Regions from separate parts of the Homo sapiens genome. Here regions 2 and 3 are each linked to region 1. Evidence: promoter capture Hi-C in 16 types of primary human blood cells and fetal thymus (Javierre and others, 2016). All regions are on one chromosome and are shown on one strand. Each heading gives the region's core, a stretch centred on a gene start or on the middle of the fragment in contact. The rest is flanking DNA. Distances are from core to core; before and after follow the strand shown. Region 1 holds the start of FCRL5 (Fc receptor like 5). Region 2 has its middle 23 kb from the start of CD5L. Region 3 overlaps FCRL1 (Fc receptor like 1).

What was found. The method cuts DNA at HindIII sites, captures the fragments that hold promoters and counts their contacts. A CHiCAGO score of 5 or more calls a contact.
Region 2: a contact is called between a fragment that was not itself captured here and the fragment with the promoter of FCRL5 in region 1, in 3 of 17 cell types (naive B cells, total B cells and M0 macrophages). The highest score is 6.8, in naive B cells.
Region 3: a fragment that was not itself captured here is called in contact with the fragment with the promoter of FCRL5 in region 1 in 1 of 17 cell types (total B cells); the score reaches 5.7 in total B cells.

What each region holds. Positions count from the first base shown.
Region 1 is chr1:157,550,636-157,554,131 of GRCh38, forward strand. It overlaps FCRL5 (Fc receptor like 5), which reads right to left and starts at 1,880. Exons shown (of 17, transcript NM_031281.3): 1 at 1,697-1,880. The coding sequence starts at 1,727. The HindIII fragment of the contact is 25,493 bases long and covers 1-3,496 here.
Region 2 is chr1:157,862,659-157,866,154 of GRCh38, forward strand. No RefSeq gene overlaps it. Among named protein-coding and RNA genes, the nearest start is that of CD5L, 23 kb to the left of the region's middle. The HindIII fragment of the contact is 2,596 bases long and covers 394-2,989 here.
Region 3 is chr1:157,812,706-157,816,201 of GRCh38, forward strand. The region is part of intron 1 of FCRL1 (Fc receptor like 1); the gene reads right to left. Among named protein-coding and RNA genes, the nearest start is that of FCRL1, 5.7 kb to the right of the region's middle. The HindIII fragment of the contact is 5,444 bases long and covers 1-3,496 here.

The DNA.
Region 1 (3,496 bases), core at 630-3,129:
TATGTTCACCATATATCCTCCAGGACCTATAACGGTGAATGGCATATAAAAGATATTCCTTTAATGTTCACTAAATATATTTGTGTTGTATAATGAATTAATTAAAGAACTAGGTTAATAATATAGGAATAGAAGGATAGAGATTTGAGAAATGGGTAATGAAGAGAGAGAGGACACAAAACTGGCAGGTTTATCAATTGAGTAGGTATTCTGCATATGGGTTGATTTATTTATTCAACAGATTTTTGGAATGCCAATCATACTCCAGAGCAAGGCAATAGAAATCCAGGAGTGTGTGAGAGACAAATCATCCCTGTCCACATGAGGCTATTGGAGACTTATCCAAACTTAAGTGTTTTACTGAGAACAACAAATTATTCACCATTCACCTGAATATTTTGGCTTCCTTCATCTTTGCATTGTTTTAAATGAAGCTAATATTTTTGTGAGTGGTTTCTATATGGTCTGCATTTACGTAGGTTATTTCATATAACCATGTCAATAATCCTGTGAGGTAAGCACTAGGATTAACTGCATTTTGTAGACCAGGAATCTGGTAGCCAGTAGGTGGCAAGATGAAGTTTGAACCTAGATCCTGTTTGACCCCAGAGCCCATGTTATAAACTTTGCCCTCTCATGCTCAGGACCTGGCCATTACCCACATTGTGTGGGGCCACACTGAGATGTATTCCTACTTCAGGAATTATAGTCCATGCACCTTCCAACTGTGAGGTCCTCTTTTCTTATATCACGCCTGCTCCATTTCTGCTCCTCTAGCTCCTACTCACCTCTAAGTTTCATGAAGTCTTTACTAGCTATTTTGAATACAGTTTATTATCTGCCTACAGCATTCATTGGTAACTTTGCCTGGACAATTATTTAACTGGGAGCTTGTTGCATAGCTGCTTGAAAGTACATTGGCCTTGCTGGGAGCCCTTCTATGTCATGACTTTCCAGAACATAGACGTAGTGTCTCCTATGGACTCTAATTGCTCAGCACCTGTGCATAGATATTACTAAACACATTTGCTGAACAAATAAATAAACATATTTAATTATAATATTTAACCTTTAGTAAAAATCAACCAGTTCGCACATATGAGTTGATAGAGACTTACGTACACCCACAGGGACAAAGAGAAAGTCATATGCTTTAGATTTATCCTTGCTTTGTCCACCTACGCCTCTGCGACCTCCTCCACCCCATGTTCTTAATCAGCCAATTGCTGCAGTGGTTTGCAATTATGTACAAGAGAAAGACCTGTCTTTCCCGTTAGAAACCTTGCCTCTTATGCTGGGGACCAGGATCTGGCCTTGTCATACAAGGAATAAATACATCTCCTCTGCAGAGAGGAGAGTGGGCTCTTCTATGAGTAAGACAATATGAACAAACAAACATGAAACATTCTCTGGACTTTAAGAAGTACTTTTTAAAGAAAAAAATAAATGAAATTTTAATTGTTGTGGTTATTGTGGTTTCCTACTCTGTAAGATTGAAAATTCCTTCCAGCTGTGGCCATTTTCTTCAGCCTCAAGAGAAAGCCCTGAGCTACAGAGTAAAGTTCAAAAATACAGTCTCCTAATGTAGGAGAGAGTCTCTCAGCAGGGGCTGAGCCCCAAGAAAGGACCAGGCCTGCGGTGGAGAGAGAAGCTGTCCCGATCCCACCCAGGGCCCATGGTGAGCCCTTTTACTCACCCAGGACCAGTAATATCACCCACAGCAGCATGAAGACCTGGACCACCAAGGGCTGAGATCAAAAGAGAAGTTTCCTCAATTCCAAAACAGGTTTGGACTTGATCTTACAGTCAGGACACTGCACACCAGCTCCAAGGAGCACATCTGAGAAGCTGTGCTCTCAAAAAGAGCAGAATGCATTAGTGAATTGAAAAAAGGAAGTGGGAGTACCCGTCTTCAGCTGCTAATCACAGTTTCCTACCCGATGATCAAAGAAAAAAAAAAGTTAAGGTTTTAAAAAATCAAATACCCTTGACCCTACATTTTTGCTATTGGGAAATTACCCTGAAGGAAGTATCTGAAGAGAGTACTATAAGAACGTTTATTGTAGCATTCATTATTGCCTAAACACTGGAAACAAAACAAAAAACCATGATATGGGGACTGTTTAAGAATATTCTGATTCATCCGTATGGTGACAAGCAATCATTAAAGAATAAGGTAAATCTGAACATGCCAAGAAGGGAAGACCACCTTGTTTGATGTGAAGAGAATAAAAGTGAGATATAGATTGGTTTTGTAGTATTATCCCATTGGGTAAATATAAAAAATAGGATATATGTGTACATCAACTCTTTTAAGTATACTTTCTTCTTTTCCTGGAAAGTACACACAAAAATATTGATTATGTTTGAGGAGCAATAGGTGGGAAGAACACAATTTATTTTATGTATTTCTGTACCGTTTGATTTTTTAAAAAATTACCAGGTGAATGTATAGCTCTTATGATTTTCTAAAAGTCAAGTTTCCATCCTGGTATACTGGTCAACAGAGGTTCCTAAGACATTAGCTGCCACGAGGAGTGCCAGTTTCTTTCTTTCAAATATTTTCTCACCCTTTCTCTCTGGGCCCATACCTTGGTCTTCCTAAGGGGGCATTTAATTTTATATCTACAAATGCACATCACCTTAGGTATATTATGTCACATCTGACCCACTGCACCCTGAGGCAAGAAAACCATACAGGGGTTACAGGGGTGAATAGAGATTAAGAGGAGAACTTCAAAGGGAACACAGAATCTTTACCTACTTTTGGTGCTAAAACAAATAGTGCTGCTATGAACATTCTTGTATACATTTATTGGGGCATATGCGCACATAATTCTGTTGGGTATATATCTGGGAGTGGAAGTCCTGGCTCATAAGGTATGCATATATTCAGTTTAGGAAGTATTACCAAATTATTTTCCAAAGTGGTTGTGCCAATTCCCACCACACCCACCAACCAATGTATGAGAGTTATCATTGTTCTAAAATTCTTGCTGATATTGGTATTGTCATCTAGTAAAATCTGGCCGTTCTGCTAGAATTATCTCAATGTGGTTTTAATTTGTATGTCTCTGGTGAATTTGAGAATGAGCATTTTTTCATAGTCTAATTGGTGATGTAGATATCCTTTTTATGTGCAATCTCTGTTCAAATATTTCCTCATTTTTCTCTTAACTTTCAGTCTTTCTTTTCCTGTTTTGTAGTTATTTTAAACCCTGAATATAAACCTTTTGTTGGATATATGTATTGCAAATGTCTTCCTTCAATCTGTGGCTTGCTTCTTTGCTCATTGATAGTGCCTTTTGATGAACAACCATTCTAACTTTGACATAGTCCAGTTTATCAGTCTTCTCCTTTGTGGTTAGAGATTTTTGCATCCCTTCTAAGAAAGTTAGTCTACTCCAAGATCATAAAGATACTCTCCCAGGTTATCTTCTAGAAACTTTATTTTTTACCATTTATTTTATATTTATAAGAGCATTGCAATTGATTT
Region 2 (3,496 bases), core at 442-2,941, 310 kb after region 1:
CCTCCTGCTTGAGTCCCAATCTTTTGCAAGGCCTGGAGTCCTAGCTCTACCACCTGGACATGATTGTTTTCCAGTATTACAGTCTTCTTGGGATCAGCCTGCTTCCACAGGACTGTCAAACTATCCGGGGTCTTGCTATAGATAGGATTTCAGGAATGTTTCTTCTGGGGAGTAGTCTGAATGGGTCATGGCCAATGACTCAGGTAAGGGGGCAGTGTTTCATGAATTCATTCAGCATTAATTCAGCACCTGTTAGGTGCCTTCGACTATGCTAAGATGTAGCAATTATATGGAGAATGTGATGAGATACGGCACTGGAGAAAGTTCCCACTGTAATCAGACAGGGACTTTAATAGAGTAGATAGACCAGATAAAGGGTAGAAATTTATGCCAAGCTTTGCTTAGGTACACTGAAACTGAAGAGCTGGTGGGACATCCCTTCAGATGCTGATTTTGTATAGAGTTTTAAGAGTTTCTTGGCTAAGAAGTTAACCTGTGCCCACTGCTGGGATTCAGCTAACTGGCATTTCCAGCGGAGTGATGAGACAGAAGTCTATTTACACACTTTATTCCTCTTTATGATCTAAATACATGTTGTTCTCTCTGTTGTTTCATTCTTCTTCATTTTACCTTCACAGAACTAATTAGTCCATGTAAAAAAGGAAGACAAAAAATCACTAAGGATGTAGAAAATGAACAGTACTATCAATTAACTTTACTTAATATTTATATAACACTACATTCAGCAAATGTAGAATGTATATTTCAAGTGGATACAGAATATATTCAAGACACATTCATTTTATGGTCCGTTAATTAAGTATCAAAGGATTTTAACCAAATTTCCTGCAAAGGAGATTTGTAGGAAACCTCCGCCTCCCAGGTTCAAGCAATTCTCCCTGCCTCTCAGGCTACCAAGTAGCTGGGATTACAGGTGCCTGCCACAACACCTGGCTAATTTTGTATTTATGTATTTATTTAGACAGAGTCTCGCTCTGTCGCCCAGGCTGGAGTGCAGTGGCGCGATCTCGGCTCACTACAAGCTCCGCCTTCCGGGTTCACGCCATTCTCCTGCCTCAGCCTCCCAAGTAGCTGGGACTACAGGCGCCCACAACCACGCCCGGCTAATTTTTTGTTTTTTGTTTGTTTGTTTGTTTGTTTGTTTTTGAGACGGAGTCTTGCTCTCTCTCCCAGTCTGGAGTGCAGTGGCATGATCTCTGCTCACTGCAAGCTCCGCCTCCCGGGTTCACGCCATTCTCCTGCCTCAGCCTCCCGAGTAGCTGGGAGTACAGGGGCCCACCACCACACCCGGCTAATTTTTTTGTATTTTTAGTAGAGACAGGGTTTCACCATGTTAGCCAGGATGGTCTCCATCTCCTGACCTCGTGATCCACCAGCCTCGGCCTCCCAATGTGCTGGGATTACAGGTGTGAGCCACTGCACCCGGCCAATTTTTTGTATTTTTAGTAGAGATGGGGTTTCACCATGTTGGCCAGGCTGGTCTTCAACTCCTGACCTCAGGTGATCCGCCCACCTCAGCCTCCCAAAGTGCTGGGAATACTGGCGTAAGCCACCTCACCAGGCCCACAGTTCTTAATAATGCATGGATCAAAGAAAAAAACCCAAGGTGAATTAGAAATTAAAAACACGTGTCAAAAACTTGTGGAAAGCCACTAAAATGGTACTAAAAGGAAATTTCACAGTTTTAAATATGTATAAACAGAAAAGATTGCTAGAATTTATTATCTAAAATTCTACCTTAATGTAGTAAAAATTCAAGTAAACCCAAAATAATAGAAGAACGGTAACAATAAAGATAAGAGTTGGTATCAATTAAATAGAGCAAAACAACAATAGAAAATAATAGTAAATCTAAAATTGTTTGTAAAGATAACTAAAATTAATAAATCTCCAGCAAAATCAAAAAAGAAAATATTCACAAATTACTAATGCACTATCATACTAATGTAAGAATGCCCAGAGCTATGGATGTAAAAAGGATAATAAGGAATCATTGTGAACAACTTTATGTCAACAAATTCCATAACCTAGATGAAATAGGAAAGGTCTTCATTGTCCACAGCCACACTCTGTGTGGCCAGTGTCCACCTGCTGCTTCTTTCTTTTGGGCAGCATTTTTGTGGCTTCTTCAGAGATTTCCCCACCGGGATCTTTCACTTGCGATTCCCTGACATTGATGAAGCCTGCTATAGCCAGCTTACTTAGAACATTCCCCTTATCCCTTGACTGCCAGCGGACTTCCCCTCAACATGCCCTCTGCTGAAGTCACCTCATCCTGCATCCTTGTGGACAAGGTCACTTTCAAGATGATCCAGTCTGGTTCACAGTGAACCATAGGAAACACGCGCCTTTCCTGCCAAACTCTGAGTGAGCAGGTTATTCCTGATGCAGTTTCATCTTTGCATTCTGTTATTACAGGGGGGTTCATCCAGTTACTCACATTTAGACCCTTTCAAATGTAAGTCAGATACCAGTACCAGGGCCTTCCCAACTCCAAAAAGAATGCGGTCAGCTTTGTAAGAGATTTTCTGTAACCTCCATCATTTTGTTTGAGAGAAGAGGGTGGAAGATGACATAACATATACAAAACTCTCTTAAAAGTAATTCCTTACTACCAATCTATTCTTAGAAAATTCTTGTCCTCTTAAAAATCTAGAGGCTTATATGGCAAAAGGCAGTTTTCCAATCTCTTAGCATTTCCGACACAAATGGTCTATGATGTATTTTCTTGCACATTTGGTCTGGTACTTATTTTTCTAGGTGTGCCAAAACCTCAATACTGCACAGAATAAAAATCACAACTAAAATTTTATGAGAGCAGTATATATTTTATTAATTATAAGGAAAATATAGGAGAGTATTACACCACCTCCACCCACAACAAATGCCAAAATAAATACTCATTGAACATTTTGGTTCTCCCTAATGTTCTCCTCCACAATGTGATATAAAACTAGCATTGACCCTAAGCTTGACAAACAGATGATAGATAGGTAGGTAGGTAGGTAGATGATACATAGATAGATAGATAGATAGAAGATAGATACTGTGGTAGATAATTTTTCATCAGCTTTAATTGCCACTCATGATAGATTGCAGAAATAAAAACAAATCTATTCCTTCATGATGTGCAACATCTTTGCAGCTTCTCCCTTCAAAAGATGGAATTTTTCTTCACTCCTAGAATCTGGGCTGCCTTAATAACTTGCTTTGGCCAATAGGATGGTAGCGGACATGTTGCAAACAGAGCTGTGAAAAGCATTTTCCCATTTAGGGCTTGCCTTCTTGCTGCTCTGGGAAGCTCTGCTGTGAGGTGAACAAGCCCAAGCTAGCTACTGAATGATGAGAGACATGTTGCCCACCACCTGTCCCTGTCACCCCCAGCAGAGGTACCTAACTGTCCTACAGCTGACCACAGACCCATGAGTGAGTCCAGCTGAGAACAGAACTGTCCAACTGAGCCCAGTTCGGATTG
Region 3 (3,496 bases), core at 559-3,058, 260 kb after region 1:
AGGCACAGATGCCATAGTAGTGGCACTGTGTGCAGGACACTGAGTGCAGGACCACAACCACCTCAAGCATCTGTGCCCTGGAACATAGTACTACCATGCCTGCCTGTGACCCATGCCAGGGCCAAACACCAAAAGACACCCTCTCAGGTATGATGGTCTATGAGGAAAAGAACAGGAAGATCCCTAAAGCTCTTGCCACTGAGAACTGTAGCAATCTATCTTGCCACCACCACCCTCACAAACTCCTACAGCCTAGGCCACTGAGGCACACACAAGCATTGCTGACATTGATTGCTGCTGAAGAAGTTACACAGAGACCACACTACTATGCTCACCTGGAACCAAACCAATGAAACTTCCTAAACTAAGGATCCATCGGCACCCTAGGATCAATCTGCAGGTGAAAGTCTTTTCTTACAAAAGCCACTCTATAAAATTGAAAAAGGTGACTCTTCCACCAGATGCACAAATGGTAAAGCAGGAACACAACAAACATGAAAAAGCGAGAAAACATGACACCAATACAAGAACAAAATAATTTTCCAATAACTAACTGGAGATTTATTAATTGCCTAAAAAATTCAAAATTATAATCTTAAGGAAACTCACTTATAAGAGAATACAGATGAAAAGTTCAATAAAATCTGGAAAACAATTTATGACCTAAACAGGAAATTTGAAAACATATAGATATCATGAAAATAATCCAAACAGAATTCATAGAGCTAAAGAATTAAATGCATGAAATAAAAATTACAATTGAGAGTTTCAACAGCAAACCAGATAAAGAAGAAGAATTTCTAAACTTGAATATAGATCTTTTGAAATAACCCAGTTAGCTGAGGAAAATTTTTTTTCGAAAGTGAAGAAAGCCTACAGGACTTATGGGACACCATTAAGTGGGCAAATATTTGTATTATTAGAGTACTAGCAGAAAAAGATATAGAGAAGGTTTTGGAAAGCATATTTGATAAAATAGTAGCTGAAAACGACTCAAGTCTTGGGATGGATATGAACAACCAAATCCATGAAGCTCAAAAATCCCCAAATAGATTTAACCTGAAGAGGTCCTCTCCAAGGTCATTATAATCAAATTGTTAAAGGTCAAATACAAAGAGAATTCTAAACACAGCAAAAACATCAAGTCATACATAAGAGAATTTCTATAAGAGTATCATCAGATCTATCACCAGAAATCATGCAGGCCAGGAAAGAATAAGATGATATATTCAAAGTGCTGAAAGAAGAAAACTTTCAGCAAGAATACTATACACAGAAAAGCTGTCTTTCAGAAATGAAGGAGAGATAAACTCTCACCCACACAAGCAAAAGCTGATGGAATTCAAGACCACTAGACAAGCCTTAAAGTAACTGCATAAGAGAGTGTTCCAGCCAGAAGTGAAAGGACAATAATTACTCCACGAAAACATGTGAAAGTGTACAATTAACTAATAGAGGTAAATTGATCATTAAATTCAGAAAATCTCATTACTGTAACGGTGATTTGTAAATCTTTCAAATATCTACTATGATGGTTAAAAGTCAAAATGGTCAATAATAACTATAGCTGTGATAAGTTGTTAAGAAATACACAATACAAAATATGTAACATAAGGCAACAAAAATATAAATAATGGCGGCAATGGTAAATGTCTAGACCAAAGTTAAGCTGTTATCAGCTTAAAGTACTCTATTATAACTATAAGATTTTTTATATAAGCCTCATGGTAACCACAAAGAAAAAACTGACAGCAGATACGTAAATGGGAGAGAGAAAGGAATCAAAGCCTAGCACTACAAAAAATCCACCAAAACACAAAGATAAACAACAGGAGAGAAACAAAGGAATGAAAGATCTACAAAACAATTAGAAAACACTCAACAAAATGGCAGGAGTTAAGTCCGTACCTATCCATAGTAACCTTGAATGTAAATAGATTAAATTATTCAATTAAAAAATATAGAGTGGCTGAATGGATTTTAAAAAACAGGACCCAACTATATTCTGCCTACAAGAAACTCTACCTGTAAGGACATACATAAACAGAAAGTAAAAGGATGAAAAAGAAATACCATGAAAATGGAGAACAGGAATAGTTATGCTTATATCTGATATAATAGAATTTAAGTCAAAAACTATAAAAAGACACAAAGAAGGCCATTGTATAATGATAAGGGGGTGAATTCATCAAGAAGATATAACAATTTTAAACATATATACATCCAACACTAGAGCACCCAAATATATAAAGCAAATATTATTAGATCTAAAAGGAGATATAGACTGCAATATAATAATAGTAGGGGACTTTAATACTCCACTTTCAGCAATGGAAAATCATCCAGATGGAAAATCAACAAAGAAATATCAGATTTAAACTACACGCTAGACAAAATAATCCTAATGGACATTTATAGAACATTTCACCCAATATCTGCAGAATTCACATTTTTCTCAACTGCACATGGAACATTCTCAAGGATAGATCATATTTGAGGAAGCAAAATGTCTTAACAAATTTAAAAAGATTGAAATTATATGAAGTCTCTTCTGACCACAATGGTATAAAACTTGAAATCAATAACACAAGGTACTTCAGAAACTTCACAAATACATGAAAATTGAACATCATGCTCCCAAAGAACCAATGAGTCAATGAAAAATAATTCAAAGAGAAATTTTAAAATTTATTGAGGCAAATAAAAATGGAACCACAACATACAAAAATCTGTGAAATATAGCAAAAGCAATTCTGAAAGGGAAGTTTATAGCAGTGAATGCCTACATCAAAAATAGAAGAAAGATCTAAAATAGGTAACCTAACGTTTCACCTCAAGGAACTAGAAAAACAAGAACAAACTCCACCCAAAGTTAGTAGAAGGAAGGAAACAATAAAGACTGTGGCAGAAATAAATGAAATAGAGACTAGAAAAACAATACAAAAGATCAATGAAATGAGTCAGTCTTTTAAAAAGATAAACAAAATTGACAAACTAGCTAGACTAAATAAGAAAAAGGAGAGAAAATTCAAATAATAAAATCAGAGATAAAAAGGGAGCATCACAACTGACATCACAGATTATAAAGGATAAAGGATTATAAGAGACTATTGTGAACAATTATATGCAAACAAGTTGGTAACTTAGAAGAAATATACAAATTCTTGCACACATATAACTTCTCAAGATTTAATTGTGAAGAAATAGAAAATCTGAACAGACCAATAACAACTAAGGGAATTCAATCAGTAATAAAAAGTCTTCCATCAAAAAGGAACCTAGGATCTGATGGCTTCATTGCTGAATTCTACCAAACATTTAAAGAACTAATACCAATTCCTCTCAAATGATTTCCAAGAAATTAAAAGAAGAAAACACTTTCAAACTCATTCTAAGAGGCTAATATTACTTTGATGCCAAAACCAGACAAAAACACAACAAAAAGAAAACTACAGGCTGATATCTCCGATAGACATAGATGTGCAAATTCTCAACA